3 separate regions of the Homo sapiens genome follow, and all the other regions are linked to region 1. Evidence: promoter capture Hi-C in 16 types of primary human blood cells and fetal thymus (Javierre and others, 2016). All regions are on one chromosome and are shown on one strand. Each heading gives the region's core, a stretch centred on a gene start or on the middle of the fragment in contact. The rest is flanking DNA. Distances are from core to core; before and after follow the strand shown.

Region 1 (3,435 bases), core at 250-2,749:
TGCATACACGGCTGAAGTTGCTTCTCTTCTTGCTGAAGGGTTTTGCCTCCACCCACTGTGAGTGCAAAACACGTTGATGTCAGCATAATGTAGAGAGGCAACTGACCAAACACTACCCAGTACTCCTCTCTGATTTAAAACCGCTTCCAAGGATAACTTGCTCCATCACAGCAGTGCCCATTCACCTCCATTATGTGCTTCCCTTGATATTTATTTTACTTTTGTGATTGTTTTGGTTGATTAAAAATATATGGAAGACCTGAAAACTACAGAGAACAAACAAATAACCCTGCCAATCCAGAATTCTAAATCCGTGATAATATTCCTCCAAAGTGAGAAATGGAAAGAATTCATTGCCAGTAGACCTGCCCTGTAAGGAACACTAAAAGAAGCCTTTCAGGCAGAAGGAGATTGCTATAGGTCAGAAACTCGGCAGTATGAAAAGAAAGGAAGAATGTCAGAAAAGGAGTAAGCAAAGGTAAAACAAATTCCTTTTTTCCCCCTGTATCTTAATAGAGCTGGAAGATACTATCTGCTTATTGATAAGATCAACTCAAGCAGAGGCTAATCATTCGTTACACGTCCACATGCCCCTGTCCGTATCTTCAGTTTCCGTGGATAGAGCAGCCACTGATGCAAAGCTTTATGGCAGGAAGCTCAGTGGAGAATCAGAATGGAGCAGTCTCCTATCAGGCAACCCCTTACCATCAGAATTCAGCACCAATATGTGCTGGTCAGGTTAGACCTCAGGATTTTACCATATCAGATTATATGATACCTAGTGCCCCAAAGATACCAAAGTCCTGAGATTGGATTTGCAAAATATTTTTGAATAAGCAATTTGTCAACCATCATTATCACACATTGGAACCTCTTCTGGGGCTGCTGTTTATTTCAATACATATATACATACACACCAAATGCACACACAAACCACCCATACGTATGCACCACATACATACATACAACATAAACACATGGTACAAACTCCCCTTATGTTCTCCACACATACACTCCAGACACATAGCAAACCAAACATATAAATACGTTACAATACTGCATCCTCAAAACGGAAGTACAAACTACAAACACCACACACATAACCACACACACACATAAATGATGGGCACAGATGCACCAGGCGTACACAGTGTGCCACACACATTACAGACACAGCACACCACAGCTATACAAGCATCACACACTGTACAACACATACTTCTCTTTCCTTGTGTCCCTGTGAACCTCACACTGATTGCTAAAAATATGTTCTTTTTTCTCTTGTGAAAAGCCTCAGAAGATAGGGCATATTCCACCCCTCCCCACATTTTCCCCTATTGCTAAGTACTTTCAATAATATCTTTGCCAGGGAATGCCCCCTTACGGCCCTCTGGGGAATCAACTGATTGCTCATTTCATTTAATGAGCCCCGTAGACTAACCTGATTCGGGACAAAAAAGTGATTTCTTCTTCCGCTGTGAAGACTTTTCTCTCAACTTTACACAATATTGACTTTCTAGGATTACCAAGTTTAGCCCCATAAATCATTCACCAAATCTTTTGACATCACTGTGTCGAAGTTAAAAGCTTAATTTTTAACTTTACTGTTACCTTTTCCTTAAAGCTTCAGGGAAGGTGTGTGGGTCAAAATCATCCAGTGGACCAGAAACTGGGAATCTGCCAGTAATTTCATGGCATAATAAGCAGACACCCTTAGTCTCTCTCCCTGCCCAGGAGGTAGAGCTTGCCTGCCATAAGTGCTCTCAAGATTTCTCTATTAAGGATGGCTCTGAGTATACAATGCTGTTCTCACAGGAATGTTGTGGCTTTCTAAATGCCCCATAAATGCCATATTAAATTTTTACTCTTAATTCCCTTCCTTCCTTTCTTCCTCCTTTTCTTCCTTTTTTCTTTCTTTCTTCCTTCTCTTTCCCTTCTTCCTTCTCCCTCCTTCCTTGCTTTCCCTCCTTCCCTCACCCTGTCTCCTCCACACTCCTCTCTAAACAGTACATCTGTTTGACATTCAGCATACTCAGAAAGAGGTACATTTTATTGAGGCATGTCCTCTGGAAGGTGTGGCTTCTCTCATGGCTCTTCCTGCAATTACTGTAGGTTCTGGTTCATCCACTTGGTTATAGCAATATCCAGAAACATTAAAAAAAAAACATAGAGAGACAGGATCTCACACTGTCACCCAGGCTGGAGTGCTATGGTGCAATTATAGCTCAGTGCAGACTTGAACTCCTGAGCTCAAGGGATCCTTCCACTTCAGCCCCAAGTAGCTGGGATTACAGGTATGCAACACTGTACCCAGCTAATTGGTAGAGACAGGGTCTTGCTGTGTTGCCCAGGTTGATATCAAACTTCCTGCCACAAGCAATCCTTGTGCCTTGGCCTCCCAAGTGTTGGAATGACAGGCGTGAGCCGTCGTGCCTGGCCCCTAATACTTTTAACTTAGAACTCTTTGAAGGTAATCTACTAATTACTTAAAAATATCCAAGCACTAAAATCAGTGATTTTGCATTATAGGTAATTTATTTCATGCTTAACAAGTTTTTTTTTAATTTTTATCATGCTTTTAAAGTGCTCATTAAATGTTTGGCACATAGCAGATGCTCTGTAAATTCAACCAGTTATTTTTTTCCTCTAAAGAAATGTTGTAAATCTTTAACCCCTTTGCCCAGGAGACTTTGATGTTGTTATTCAGTTAGATTTTTTCTTTTTCAAAAGTCCAGATTCTGCTGGTCCTCTTCTGTGTGTTGCAGAATGTTTGTACTGTCCTGTTTCATGCTGGGCAATTTCTGGCATTTTCTGAAAGAGGAGCCCTTTTAGTGATTGAAACCCCTAGGTCAGCAGTTGTTCAAAGTCCATGTGTTAAATAATAACACTCCCATCTGCCATCAGTATCCCAGTTCTGGATACTGATTACCTGAAGGAGAACCATCTTTCTGTTTGCTGGCCCCAAAGCTTTCTGCTGCTCTGTGAGATTCTTTGAAATTGTTTCTTTTGGATTCTGTGTTTTATGTATTAAATTTTTAAATTTATCATTTTATTATGGAAATGTTTAAGCATACAAAAAAGTAGATCAGTTTAAGATAACTGTGTACATATTCACCCACTTCAATAATTATCAATATTTGGCCATTTGAGTTTTCATTTGGCCTTTTGAATGTTATCAACAACATTCAATGGTTGTTTTTTGTAGCATTTTAAAGCAGATCTCAGACATTATGTCATTTCTTCTATAAAACATTCAGCATGGCTATCTAATTCATTAGGACCTTAAAAGATATAACTAACATGGTATCAGCACATCTAGTAAATAAACAATAATCCCTTAACATCACCTAATATCCAACCTTTATGACAATTTTCCCAATTGCTTCAAAATTGTGTCCTTTATATTTGCTTGATTTAAGTGAGGATTTGAATAGG
Region 2 (3,435 bases), core at 426-2,925, 640 kb before region 1:
ACTCAAGAATAAAAATATAAGCAACACAAGTTTTTAAAAAACAGGCCAAAGATTTGAATAGACATTTCATCATAAAAGATATACATATGGCCAGTGGGCACATATAAAAAAGTATCCAACATCATTAGTCATTGGAGAAATGTAAATTAAAACCAAAAGTGAGTAGGAAACAAAAGCATTAAGAATAACTCATGTATTTCCATTTCTGGCCAAAATGCAGTAAGAAAGACCAGATTTATCCTCCTCTCTGAAACAACAACAAAAAGACAAATACGTGAAACAGCGAGTCTTAGAACAAATTAGACAATGAAGAATGGTGATCTCCAAGAAACAGGAAATAAATGATGTGAGCCAATGATTGCCCCAGTATACTATTTGGAGGAAGTTTTTTCAGGTCACAGGGCAGGGAAGAGGCACCTTTGTGGAGGTATCCTGGAACTGAGGAGACAGCTGAGAGTCTGGAGAGTAAGGTGGCTAGAGTGCCTAGGGCAGAGCACCAAAGACATGAGAGCTGCCCTGGGAAAACTTGAAGACCTACAGAAGGTCCCCCTCAAACATTCAGCTAAGTGCTGATCAGTGCATGTGTGTGGGAGAATGCCCAAGGTCAGGGGAAGAACCACTAAATTAACGTGAGGAAACAATCATCAGAGCTCACATAGTGCTAGAAAGGGTGAAAACTTGTGAATCTGTCTTCTGGGAATGTCAGGCTCTGTGACAGTCACACAGAGGTCAGTCTCTGCATACCCAAGACTTAAAAACATCTGTGAAATTGAACCGCTAACTCAGCAAGTGTTTCAGCAGGTGAGTCAACTATGTACCAAGCACTTGGAGCCATTAATAACACCCTACCAACCTGACTCAAAGTGTTGCTCAGGAAAAGTCTCTCTTAAGTGGGAACACCTCCCATGCTCATCAAATGCCACCATCCCCCAAAAGCTTCCTCCACACCAGCCATCTTTCTGGGTACTCCTCCTAGCTTGCCACCCCTAAGCCCTGGGACTTTTCCTTCCTGCTCTTTCCCATCAATACTGCCCTGTCTCATTCCTTCAGGACCTGGCCCCTCTGCTACTCAAAGTGGCAGCAAGCCTTCTCATAGCCTAACCAGCGCAAATGAGTGAGAAGCTGAGAGTTAAAGTGATTTCACCCAGTCACTCTCCTTCTCAGTGCAATGCGTTATGTAGTAGCAGTAGGGGTTTTCAGGAAATGCATGATCTCAACACGGAATAGCTGCCGTGTGGACATTGCTGGTATGCTAGCAAACAGAGTGAGGAAGAGTTTGGAGCAAGCAGGCATGACCATGCCCCCTTAAATCCCATCAAAGACAAAGTGACATTTTTCTCCACACATAATCCACCCCTGGGAAGATGCAGGACAGAGTCACAGAGCATTTCACATGTGTTAGGGGAATGTCCTATGTGTTTGGGGAAAACAAAAGGAAGATAGGAAGGAGGAAAAAATAAAGGAGATTCAGTCAACAAGCACTAGTTGAATATCCTACACATGCCAGGTACTGCTCTAGGTTTTGGGGTTATAGCAGTGAACAAATGGTTTTGTTCCTTTTATACTACCATGGAAATTTCCACCTTGGAGGACACAGAACTTTGAATGTGTCTTTGTAAGAAGTTTCCCAGATAAGTTTGATTGTCAGGCAATTTGAGGAACCACTATTGAAGCAACAGTTGAGATTCTTCTCATTGATCCAAAAAGCAACCTACAATACTCATGGCTGTTGACTTTGGAAAACAGTTTTATTGAATATCAAGGTGCTATCTTTCTTCACACAGTCTACCAAAGGTTTGCTTTGATGTCCTCCTAATCCTTCTCCAAACACTGAGGCCCCTCCCAATCTACTCCATATACTTATGCTTTGTGTATCAGGTCCCACCTGCACCTCTTAGAAAGTACCCCAACTCCCAATTATTTATCAGTCTCTTCACCACATGCCCATCAATTATATTTAGCAATATAATACGTACTGAGGACTTTTGATAAGAGGTATGTTCCTTCTGATTTATACATATTTTCTCATGTCATCCTAAAACTTTATGTAGTGGGTATTATCCTGCAGAAGAGGAAAGTGAGACAGACAGATTATATAACAAGACCATTGTTACTGAGAATGAGGTCATTCTTTATGTATTAACATGACCTTCCATCTTTCTACTGTGCCTCCATCATACTGAATAATACCTTAAGTTTTGAAATTGAGAGGGAGAAGAGGGAGAGAGAGAGAAAAGGAGAGAGACCTAGAGGGAATTGGGGGAAGAGAGGGGGAGAGGCTCTTAAATACAACACCTCTTCCATTTACTTGATATATGAACTTCACCTCTTAAAGCCTCTTTTCCACATCTGCAACAGAGAAATAATGACTCCTACTCTATGTAGGTTGTGGGGTTTAAATGAGGTTATGGATATAAAGCTTCTAAGTACTGCACTTGCTACATGATAAGCTTAAGTATGTGATAATAACAGCCCTATATCCATATACTCTGTTTTTTCTTCAGTTTTTTTTTTTTAAACCAGTATCTGACATTATATTGTGTGCGTGGTAGGTGGGTGTATTATCTCTCTGTCCCACTGTATTTTTTTTTTTTTTGAGACAAAGTCTCACTCTTGTTGCCCAGGCTGGAGTGCAATGGCATGACTTCGACTCAACGCAGCCTCTGCCTCCCAGGTTCAAGTGATTCTCTTGCCTCAGTCTCCCAAGTAACCAGGATTACAGACGTACGCCAACACACCCAGCTAATTTTTGCATTTTTAATAGAGACGGGGTTTCACTATGTTGGCCCAGGCTGATCTTGAACTCCCAACCTCAGGTGATCCACCCGCCTCAGCCTCCCAAAGTACTGGGATTACAGGCATGAGCCACTGCACCGTGCTGTCCCATTGTATATCATAAGCTCCACATGAGAAGGAATTTTGCCACATTTACCTCTGTATCCACAGTGCTTACAATGATGGCTGGCTTCTAGTAGGCACACTTTAAGTATTTGTTGAAGGAATGGTTGTTATGACCATAATCTTCCCTACAGCACCTTACTACAAACATAGTAGTTGCCCTACGAATGCTTTCTATGTGGTTTGCAGTAAATAGAATGCAAAACCCTTATTATCATACTATATTGCCACCCATCTCAGCTAAACTGAATGAATAAATAACCTTCTGGCTGGGGTAACCTATTTGAAGATAGAGGTCACAAAAACAAAGAGGGCATTTAATAAATATTGATTATTCATTACATTGCCTGCTTTCTACCCTGGCCTCTAGGAAAAAAAAAGTTCAGTGAATGTCATTCCTTCTAAGATGTATATTTAAACCTTTAAGATCTCCCGTATTTTTATAAATTTCCTAAAATATTGTATTATTTTTACAAATGGAAACAAAATTTTAATTGAGAAAAAATAATACAATAACTTAGCATGGAAAAAAGCACT
Region 3 (3,435 bases), core at 546-3,045, 610 kb before region 1:
CCAGAGCCATGCACAGATATTCACCTACTTTCCCTCCCTTGGTATCAGCAAGACCTTGCTAATATTACAGAGCACATCTCTAGTAGTGTTCAGGGAAATATTCTGGCTTAATGAAGTCCCAGGCTGTAAATAACATTTGTAGGAACAGTTGCAACTTTGAAGAACCGCTATAAGGGCTAAGGAAGGACACTCTACATTGCATTCAAGGGTCTCTGTGTCTCCCCTTAGTGGGCAAGGAAGCTGCCATTTTTCCTCCTCTAGAGCAAGTCTTATCTTCTCATCCTTCTAGTGAGGCCACTGGGCCTCTTATTCGAGATTCTTTCTTTTCTCTTTTTCTTCTCTGTCATCCCAATTAGCTTTCAGAGTGTCTATGATAAAAAAGAAAAAGACAATCTACAATTCAAAAAATTAAAAATTATACTAGAGTTTATGCCTGTAAGTGATCTTTTGATAATAAAACATGTAGGATTTTAAAATTTTGATACTCAATTTTTACAAAAACAAAACTGAAATGTACACCACTGTTTCACAGAGGATATCTTATAAGAGAATTAGAATGGCTGAATCTGAACTTGGCTTCCATAGCTTCTCACATCCAGAAATTCCAAATAAATAAAGTAACTCAAACAACGGCAGTCTGACAACTCCTATCAGACCTGGAGGACACAGGGACCCATCTTCCATGTGTTAAAGGGTGAGGAAGAAAGTAAAATAGGAAAACAAAAAAAGTATGCTTTATCCAAGGGCCTATGTCTTCCCCAAATGACTTTACATTCAGAATCTCTTTGCCTAACTCTCCCCAATTTGAGAGGTATTTTTCTTCAAAATCCTGATCCTGCTTTCATTCCATTCCCTGTTTAGTATAAATTCCTGGCTAAACACACTTGGTCTCAGAGAACCATGTCAAAGGTTACTAAGGTCAAAAAAGCTTTTCTTATTTTCTGACAGTCCCTGAGGTCCTGAGAGAATGCATTCTTCTTTTGTTTGGCTGGTAAATAGGAAGTTCTGCATTTTACTTTCCCCAACAAGGAAGCAAATATTTTCTTATTGTCTTATTCTGTGGCTGTATTAAAGAAAAAAATCAGCATTTCCAGAGCTCTATGCTAACAGGCCACTGGGTGGCAGTCCTGAGCTGTAATGCAGAAGAGAAGAGTCAGGAAAAACCTGTAAACCAGAGCGGGAGATATAATAATGTTCAGGAGATAACAACGTCATCAAAGATCAACTACTTTCCACCAATAGAGCCTAATTAAATGAAAGGAATCATACCAGGAAAAAATGGAGGTAGTATCATACGTTTAAATTAAAACTGCCCAAGACGCTTAGATAAAATTGGCAGAAAAGCATCCCTCCTTCCACTTTCATTATCACCAAGGTAACATGGTCCAGAGTGGAGCTGAATGTCAACCCAGTGCTAATGGGCAGGCTTCTTCCTACTCAATTTTCCCTTTTTCACCAGGACTTCAGAATAAAGCACTAGAACTCACACTGTCCTGCTCTGCAAGCTCCAACCCCAGATTAATCCTGAAATCCCCCTTCTCTGCTTCTATATCTTAGTGATTTGGGGCTTCTAGAGAGAAGTACAACCGTGGGAACTGGTATCTTCACAAAGGTATACTTTCCGATTTCAGAAGAATACTCCATTCATCTTGTCAATACTTCTCCTTATCTAAAAACAGCATCTCTCCCCTCATCCCTTCTCCTTCCCTCACTCCTCTCTATAGCGAGAATCTCATACCTTCAGTTCTGTCCATCCCCTGTCAGCAAGTGATCTTGCCCCCACAGAGACTACTGAGCCCACAAACCCTCAAATCTTCACTCTTCCATCCCACCCCCATACACATCCTGCCCCCATACAGGTTTATCTTCATTTTCACTCATTCTTGCTTCCTGTCCCACCAATCACAAGAAATAGAACAGCTGCCCTCCTCTCCCCTCCAGGTGTCTCCCAGCATTTCACCACATGCATCAATTTCTGTGTCTACATAAACTGTTTGCCCCGCCCCCACCCCCGAATGCTAATATGACAAGAGGACATATTAGAGGAGAATCGAATTCTCTTAGCAAATGGCATGAAAATTCCTTTTGGAGATTTCTTAGAAAAATTCATGGATAAGCCCATTGAGGTTGAAGGCGAGACCTTGACTCTGGGTTGATCACTCAGTTCTAGACAAGAAAAGTAATTCCTTGCTCTAAAGGAGGAGGAAGTTGGGAAAAACGGAGGAGGAGCCAGCAGGATGGCAGAGGGCAGTGTGGTTGGGCGTATAACCCCTCTCCAGGAGCACCTCCAAACTACCTTAAAGTTCCTTGTTAAATTGTTAACTCAATAGATTACCATTAACATGAGTGTTTGTGTAGAAACTGGCGAGAAGGCTGAGATTCGCACTGTGGTGCCACAAGATGGATCTGAAACCACAGGTACAGATGTGGCAGGGGACACAAAGAGAAGCATGAGGGAGCAAGCCTCAGAAATTTAGGGAAATCATAAAAGGAATCTTGGACTGTGGCTTTGGACCAGGTTTACAAAGATGGACCAACATCTCACAGAGCCAGGGAGGCCCCAGCTGACATTGGCTTGCTCTAGCTTCTCCCATCCTAAACAAAAGCCTCTCTACCCTGAGCCCTTTTTCACTTTCTCCTTCTGTCATCATCCAACTCTCTCAGAAGCTTGGTCTGTACTTGTGGCAGCTTCAGCACCTCCCAATAATTTCTCAAACTTCTGCTGACTGTTCTCACCAAGGTCATCAATGATGTCCTCATGAGGAACATTCTCAGTCCTTGTCTCACAGAACAGTTCTTCTTCATTAGGCACCACTGATAACTTTCATCTTATCTCTCCTTGGGTCTCTGACCTTTCCAGTTGCCTTCACCATGGGCTGCTCCTCTTCTTTCTGCTGCTTAAATGTCAGTGTTAGGGATTGAGGAGGTGCATTTCCAACCAGCATCTGAAAGACTTATGATGTTCACCAAACTAGGGTTAACAAGCCTGTGAGTTGAATTTGACTACAATTGAGTCAAACTGAATGGTGCAATCAGAGTGTGAATGAAGGAAAATAAAGAAACCAAGGGAGGAAACATTATAAATGGCAGGGAAGGGAGGCCAAGAATGTTCTTGAGAATATTAAGAATATTCTGAGAATAAAAGAAACAAGCTGGGTATGGTGGCTCACACCAGCAATCCTAGCACTTTAGGGAGCTGAGGCAGAAGAATTGCTTGAGCCCAGGAGTTCAAGACCAGCCTGGGCAAAATAGCGAAATCTTGTCTCCACTAAAAATACAAGAAATTAGCTAGGCATGGTGGTGTGCATCTGTGGTCCCAGCAACCCAAAGGCTGAGGTGGGAGGATCACTTGAGCTTGGGAGGTCGGGGCTGCAGTGAGCCAAGATTGCACCACTGCACTCCAGCCTGGGCCACAGAGTGAGACTTTGTCTCAGG

Evidence for each region. Contacts are between HindIII fragments. The CHiCAGO score rates a contact against its expected background, and 5 or more counts as called.
Region 2: a contact is called between a fragment that was not itself captured here and the fragment with the promoter of SLC17A1 in region 1, in 1 of 17 cell types (M1 macrophages). The highest score is 5.8, in M1 macrophages.
Region 3: a fragment that was not itself captured here is called in contact with the fragment with the promoter of SLC17A1 in region 1 in 4 of 17 cell types (megakaryocytes, M1 macrophages, M2 macrophages and 1 more); the score reaches 7.5 in megakaryocytes.

What each region holds. Positions count from the first base shown.
Region 1 is chr6:25,830,553-25,833,987 of GRCh38, forward strand. SLC17A1 (solute carrier family 17 member 1) reads right to left here and starts at 1,500. Exons shown (of 13, transcript NM_005074.5): 1 at 1,442-1,500; 2 at 1-55. The coding sequence starts at 5. The HindIII fragment of the contact is 946 bases long and covers 640-1,585 here.
Region 2 is chr6:25,186,310-25,189,744 of GRCh38, forward strand. No RefSeq gene overlaps it. Among named protein-coding and RNA genes, the nearest start is that of CARMIL1, 91 kb to the right of the region's middle. The HindIII fragment of the contact is 1,483 bases long and covers 935-2,417 here.
Region 3 is chr6:25,222,539-25,225,973 of GRCh38, forward strand. No RefSeq gene overlaps it. Among named protein-coding and RNA genes, the nearest start is that of CARMIL1, 55 kb to the right of the region's middle. The HindIII fragment of the contact is 1,739 bases long and covers 927-2,665 here.